Linked DNA regions of Homo sapiens: region 1 is linked to region 2. Evidence: promoter capture Hi-C in 16 types of primary human blood cells and fetal thymus (Javierre and others, 2016). All regions are on one chromosome and are shown on one strand. Each heading gives the region's core, a stretch centred on a gene start or on the middle of the fragment in contact. The rest is flanking DNA. Distances are from core to core; before and after follow the strand shown. Region 1 overlaps PARP11-AS1 (PARP11 antisense RNA 1). Region 2 holds the start of FGF6 (fibroblast growth factor 6).

Region 1 (3,003 bases), core at 189-2,688, 550 kb after region 2:
CTTGGGAGGCTGAGATGGGAGGATCGCCTGACCCTGGGAGATCCAAACTGTAGTGAGCTATGATTGAGCCACTGTACTCCAGCCTGGGGGCAGAGTAAGACCTTGTCTCAAAAATAAATAAATAAATAAATAAATAAATAAACAAACCATGAGACAGAGTACACCTGAGAGTCACAGTTAGGAGCAAAGACTGGGAGTTGCCATCAGGGCTGAAGGCTAAAATCATGAGACTGGATGAGCCTATTGAGAATGAGGAGAGCGCAGGCCAAGGAGTGAGACTTGCAGGACACCGACACTCAGGGACTTAGGGAGCAGTGAGAGAGAGAAAGAGAGAGAGAGAGAGAGAGAGAGAGAGGGAGAGAGAGAGAGAGAGTGAGAGAGAGTGAGAGTATGTGTCAGGGTGGAGCAGGAAGCAGCAAAGGCAGAAATAGGGCATTGCTTTGCTAGTTCATAGCCTACTTTCTTCCCTAAAGAAGGGAATACAACTGAGCATGCAAGAGAGGACCAGATGTAGACAATTTCCTGAAGGAAGGAGACATCAGCTGGGCCACCTGCTTCAGGGAGGCCTGGGAAGAGGGGAGGCTTGGAAATATCACCAGATTTGGGAAGAAGGTCACTGGCTATTGAGGGAGCAGGTACAGAAGAGGAGTTTGGGCAGATGCCCAATTGCAGGGGCTTAAGATGTGATTAAAGGAAATGGAGACAGGAGGAGGGTGTGAGGCCATACCCATTGAAATAGTGCTCCTATGGAATGAAAGAAAAACATACGGAGGCTCTAAGGACCAAGCACACAATCTTACGGGAGTTCTAGCATGACATCAGAAGGACTCATGGAGTGGACGAGATCACGGAGAGAAAGGGCCAAGAGACTCTGGAGGTGATGGTGCACCCACGTGGTTCTCAAGATTGTCTGTCTAGGTTTTCCTTGTAGCTCAGCTGGAAGCTTCACATGGCAGGTGGAAGGACATTTCCAGACCCTTCATTACTGCCATAGCTTTTGGAAAGATTGAATACAACAAGGGACAGGGAAGTGTGATGTATTGTGTCCTAAAAACCCCTCAGAAAAGACAATTTGAAGCAGAACATATAAATGATATCTTGTGTTACTTTCCTCATTCCCTTTCTTATTTACTTTTCCCACATGCCTCTAAGTCTGGATGCAATTGTGTGTCTCTAGGAGGTGTTCTAACAGGCTTCTAGTCACCATGAGAAATCTTAGAGTCTCCTCTTGGAGCTGATGACTTCGGGTCTAGACCCTGAAACATAATATTCTACTATTCACAGTAGAATGAAATGGCTTCAAGTCCCTGCATGTCCCATGTATTACATATTTAGTATGTAATACTTACAAGAAATGTGACCCTGGACAAGGGGCGAGGCTTCCCTGGGCCTGGGTTTTCTCAGGTAGAAGGAGAGCATGGTCGTACCTCTGCTGCCCAGCCTCTCGGGGAGCAGGCTTTCTTCCCGAGCGATGCAGCAGGAGAGCAAGGAGGAAAGGAGGTGACAAGGCAGAGCAGAAGAGGAGAAACTGGGTGGGGAAGCCAGAGTCCAGGCGATGGACTGGCCTGGGATTTGTAACTGGACGGAGGCTGAGGTGGGTTGAGGGTCTGGGGCTCAGGCATGGCAGGGATAAGGGTGGCTTCACAGGAAGGACTTCCCAGGGCAAGTGCTTTCCTTGACTCAAAGTGACGAGCTTTGACAGGGCTTTGGGAAAAGGGGGAGATGTGGCTTAGGTGATATGCTTTCTGGATGACTGTCGATCACGAGGGAGCTAAGGTGCAGGAGTTTACGTTCCCGGGCCTGATGATGGGGACAGCCCAGCACGTGGCCGGGCAGTTTCTTCACACACTTTTAGTTTTGCTTTCTTGTAAAGAGTTCCAGTGTTATCATTATGTTTAGCAGTTATAAACACTCCCGTTTATTACAAGCTTACTAAACACCAGCTTTACATATATTTGCGTGGGAAATTTGTACTTATCACCCCCAACCAAGCCTATGAAAGCACCGTACAAACACTGCTTTGTAAGCCTTGGACTGACTTGTCAGTTTGCAGCTTTGCTTATAATGGTACACGGTTTGGCCTTTCAACTCCTGACTTTTTCTTGGTGATTGAAGACTAGAGGTAGTGACCACAAAGGAAGCTAGAGCCTCTTCTCATGTGTGTGAGGAGGACTCTGGAATAGGAAGAAGGGTGTCTGTGAGTGCTGGACTGGGCATGCCGCCCAGGAAATAAGATCCTCACTTTGTCCTGCATTTCTCCTTTGGTATCAGCCCCTGGCCACAGTGGAGACACAAATCACTATTGTAGCACCTGTCATCCCACGGAGTGTGATCTGTTTATTTGATTGTCTCTCCCTTAAGATGGCATGTGACCTTTTTGTGAGCAAGGTCTCTCTCTCTCTCTCTCTCTCTGTCTCTCTCTCTCTCTCTCTCTCTCTATATATATATATATATATATATATATTTTTTTTTTTTTTTTTCTTGAAGCAGAATCTTGCTCTGTCCCCCAGGCTGGAGTGCAGTGGCACAATCTCAGCTCACTGCAAGCTCCGCCTCCCGGGTTCACGCCATTCTGCCTCAGCCTCCCAAGTAATTGGGACTACAGGCACCCACCACCACACCCAGCTAAATTTTTTTTTTTTGTATTTCTAGTAGAGATGGGGTTTCACCGTGTTTGCCAGGATGGTCTCGATCTCCTGACCTCGTGATCCACCCACCTCGGCCTCCCAAAGTGCTGGGATTATATGCGTAAGCCACCGTGCCTGGCCTATATATCTTTTATATAACTCCACGTCCCTAATGCCCATGTTCTCAACAGGGTTTGGTACACAGTAGATGCTCAGCAGCACATGTTGAACAATTGAATGACTTCTTGTCTCTGCTTTGTTTCTGGCATGCTTTGTGAGCTTGTGCACTGTTGATTTTTGGAAAGGCATTATTTTTCCTATGTTACAATCTTATCACAAGTCTTTTCTCACAGCTATTTTACTATTAGGACAATGG
Region 2 (2,942 bases), core at 129-2,628:
GCTGGGACCAGCTCTACTGCTCAGGACACTCAAATCCATCTGTATGCCACTGTCATCACCCCACACATACTCTCTCCAATCCCGGCAAAATCAGTGCTAATGTCTCACCAACAGATTAAGGCCTGGATTGAAGTACAAGAAACAGGATTTTTAACTCAAGTTAATTCAATTCCCCAGCGACCCTTGTTAACTTATTCACCCTCAGAGACGTATTAATAGTTCTGTCTTATATTGTATAGAAATTTGTGCAGTGAGTTTTCTGGTAGCTTTACATTTTTTTTCTCACTTCAGTTAGACATGTAATCTATTTAAAAGTAATATGGGAATAAGATAAATCAGTGTAGGAATAACTTCCTGGCAGAAATATTTTTACTAGTTTCTGAGTGTAATATCAGCCCAGCAAAAGTTATCTGCAAATATAGAAGTTCTCATGTACATCAAAGACACTCAAGTTTTTTTTAAGAAATAAATCATTTTATGCTACTGAAATAACTCTGTGATGTGCTATTGGCATTTAAGGAGCTAAACAGACTCTATGGGCCAGCCAACTTCTACTGCAAGCATTAGACATGCACAGGCTTTAGACTCAGGCACACCTTAGAAGTTCTGGCTTTGCTACTTATTAGCTATGGTAACTCGGGCAGGTCATTTATCCTCTCTAAGCCTCAACTTCCTCATCTGTGAAATGGGAATAATATCAGTCACATGCCAGGGATAAATCCAGGGAGAATGGCCAGGGGGCTGTGTCAAAGGCCAGACACAACTTCCACCCCAGGTGAATGTCGGGACCAGGACAGTGAGCAGGCAAACCTTGCCCTTGCCCTCCTTCCCTCCACAATCTTAAAGCTCCTTGAACAACCCCCATCCCCACCCCCTGAGAATGTCTGTGCCCTCCTGCTGAAAGGGTTTGGCCTTTCAGTGTTCCCCTCCACCATGAGCTGTTTCCATGAAAAGATCTCAAGGGTGACTTGAGGCTACGGTCATCACTACCACAAGCCTTTTCCCATCCCTGCCTCTACCTATTGCCCTCTAAATAAGGAAGCCAGCGCTGCCAGGCAAAGAACTTCTGCCCAATATGGGTCCTGGGTGGCCTCTCGCCTCTCTCTTTCCCTGGGCCCCCAGCCAGCTCCCCCCTCCCCCAGAGATGCTCCCTGCTCACTTCATTCCTGCCTCATAGTTGGAATGACAGTGGCTCCCAGAACCCCTGGGGAGTGTGGAGGGTGATGGGGGTCTGGGGAGGCAGCCAGGCCCAAGAGCAGGTTAATGTTACAGCCCTGGATAAGTGAGCTGGGCGGGTTGACGTCAGGGCGATGATGGGTGGAGGGGAGGGCCGGGCTGCTGAAGCAACTATAAAGATAGGTCAAATCAAATATCATCAACTAGGGACGGAGCAAGCGGGCGAGCTAGAGAGCGTCCCCGAGCCATGGTCTCTACCGGCCGCGGCTCAGCCTGGGTCCCTCTGCTCTCAACCCGAGTGCCCGATGGAGGCTTTGGTTTCATGTCAGCAGCCTTCATCTGCCTTCCAAAAATAAGCCCCTGCCGCCATGCCGGAGGGAGAAAAACAAGAAGGGCGGTATTTTTAGGGCCATTAATTCTGACCACGTGCCTGAGAGGCAAGGTGGATGGCCCTGGGACAGAAACTGTTCATCACTATGTCCCGGGGAGCAGGACGTCTGCAGGGCACGCTGTGGGCTCTCGTCTTCCTAGGCATCCTAGTGGGCATGGTGGTGCCCTCGCCTGCAGGCACCCGTGCCAACAACACGCTGCTGGACTCGAGGGGCTGGGGCACCCTGCTGTCCAGGTCTCGCGCCGGGCTAGCTGGAGAGATTGCCGGGGTGAACTGGGAAAGTGGCTATTTGGTGGGGATCAAGCGGCAGCGGAGGCTCTACTGCAACGTGGGCATCGGCTTTCACCTCCAGGTGCTCCCCGACGGCCGGATCAGCGGGACCCACGAGGAGAACCCCTACAGTGAGTGCCAGCTGCAGCCAGTCGGGACGCTTGGGGGTTTGGGCTCATGCAGGGCTAAAAGGTGAAGGGGCCCTGCTCTAGCGGACAGGATGCACGATAAAGGGGGCAGAAATGCTGCTCACCACTTAGATGATTCCACGTGACCCTGCCTGGGTGCAAGCTCAATATACTGCGGTCCAAGCATCCTGGTGTTCTTTGCCATCGCCTTGGTTAGATCCTCAGTGGCACTAACTATTTCAGCATTACTGGCCCATCTGATGCCTTGTAAGACCATTAGGAACCATTAGTCTGGGAAGCCCCCAAGGCCTGGGTAGGGAGAATCAGTTAGTATACTTGGATCAAATTTGACACAAGCTCATTTTTATTCAGCTTCTTTCTTGGAGAAGGAAGGGAAATTCAATTGCAAAATGTCCAACTGAAGCACATCCTTCTTTTTATTTCAGCGGCTCCCTCTGTCCCCAGGTTCTTATCCTGCAAGCTGCCTGCAAGCTGCCAGCTTGCTGTATGGTTAGTCTCCTATCCAAGAAAGGATGGGGGCTGCAGGATCCAAGAAAGCCATCAGCTATGGTGTGGCTGCTGTGTTTTCAAGATTAAGTGGGTTGAGATTTGTTGAAACATGTAGAGTACACATTAAGAAGAAGAAGAAGAATCAGAATTTATTTTTTTACTCAAGTCAAGGACCTCAAGTAATTATGTCACTGAAAGCCCAGATTCAAAGCTCATCTTAAACAGATAGCTAAGTGGTCACTGCAGCCCCTAACTCTGCTATCAGAACCTTCCCTTGCAGAACTGGATTTCTAACAGCACAATGGCAGCACTCGATGAGTCCAGCAGCCAGGGTCTCCTAGAGTTAGAGGGATCATGGATGGGGCAATGGAGAGTCTGGCTTTCTAGGAGAAGGGGGATGGACTGAGATGCCCTTGTCGGCTCAAGTTCCCACTCTGATTTGCACAAGCCTTAGGTAATGTGGCCCC

Evidence for each region. The method cuts DNA at HindIII sites, captures the fragments that hold promoters and counts their contacts. A CHiCAGO score of 5 or more calls a contact.
Region 1: a contact is called between a fragment that was not itself captured here and the fragment with the promoter of FGF6 in region 2, in 1 of 17 cell types (monocytes). The highest score is 6.2, in monocytes.

The regions. Positions count from the first base shown.
Region 1 is chr12:3,890,211-3,893,213 of GRCh38, reverse strand. All of the region lies in intron 1 of PARP11-AS1 (PARP11 antisense RNA 1), which reads right to left. Among named protein-coding and RNA genes, the nearest start is that of PARP11, 18 kb to the right of the region's middle. The HindIII fragment of the contact is 985 bases long and covers 946-1,930 here.
Region 2 is chr12:4,444,251-4,447,192 of GRCh38, reverse strand. It overlaps FGF6 (fibroblast growth factor 6), which reads left to right and starts at 1,378. Exons shown (of 3, transcript NM_020996.3): 1 at 1,378-1,968. The coding sequence starts at 1,623. The HindIII fragment of the contact is 8,014 bases long and covers 1-2,942 here.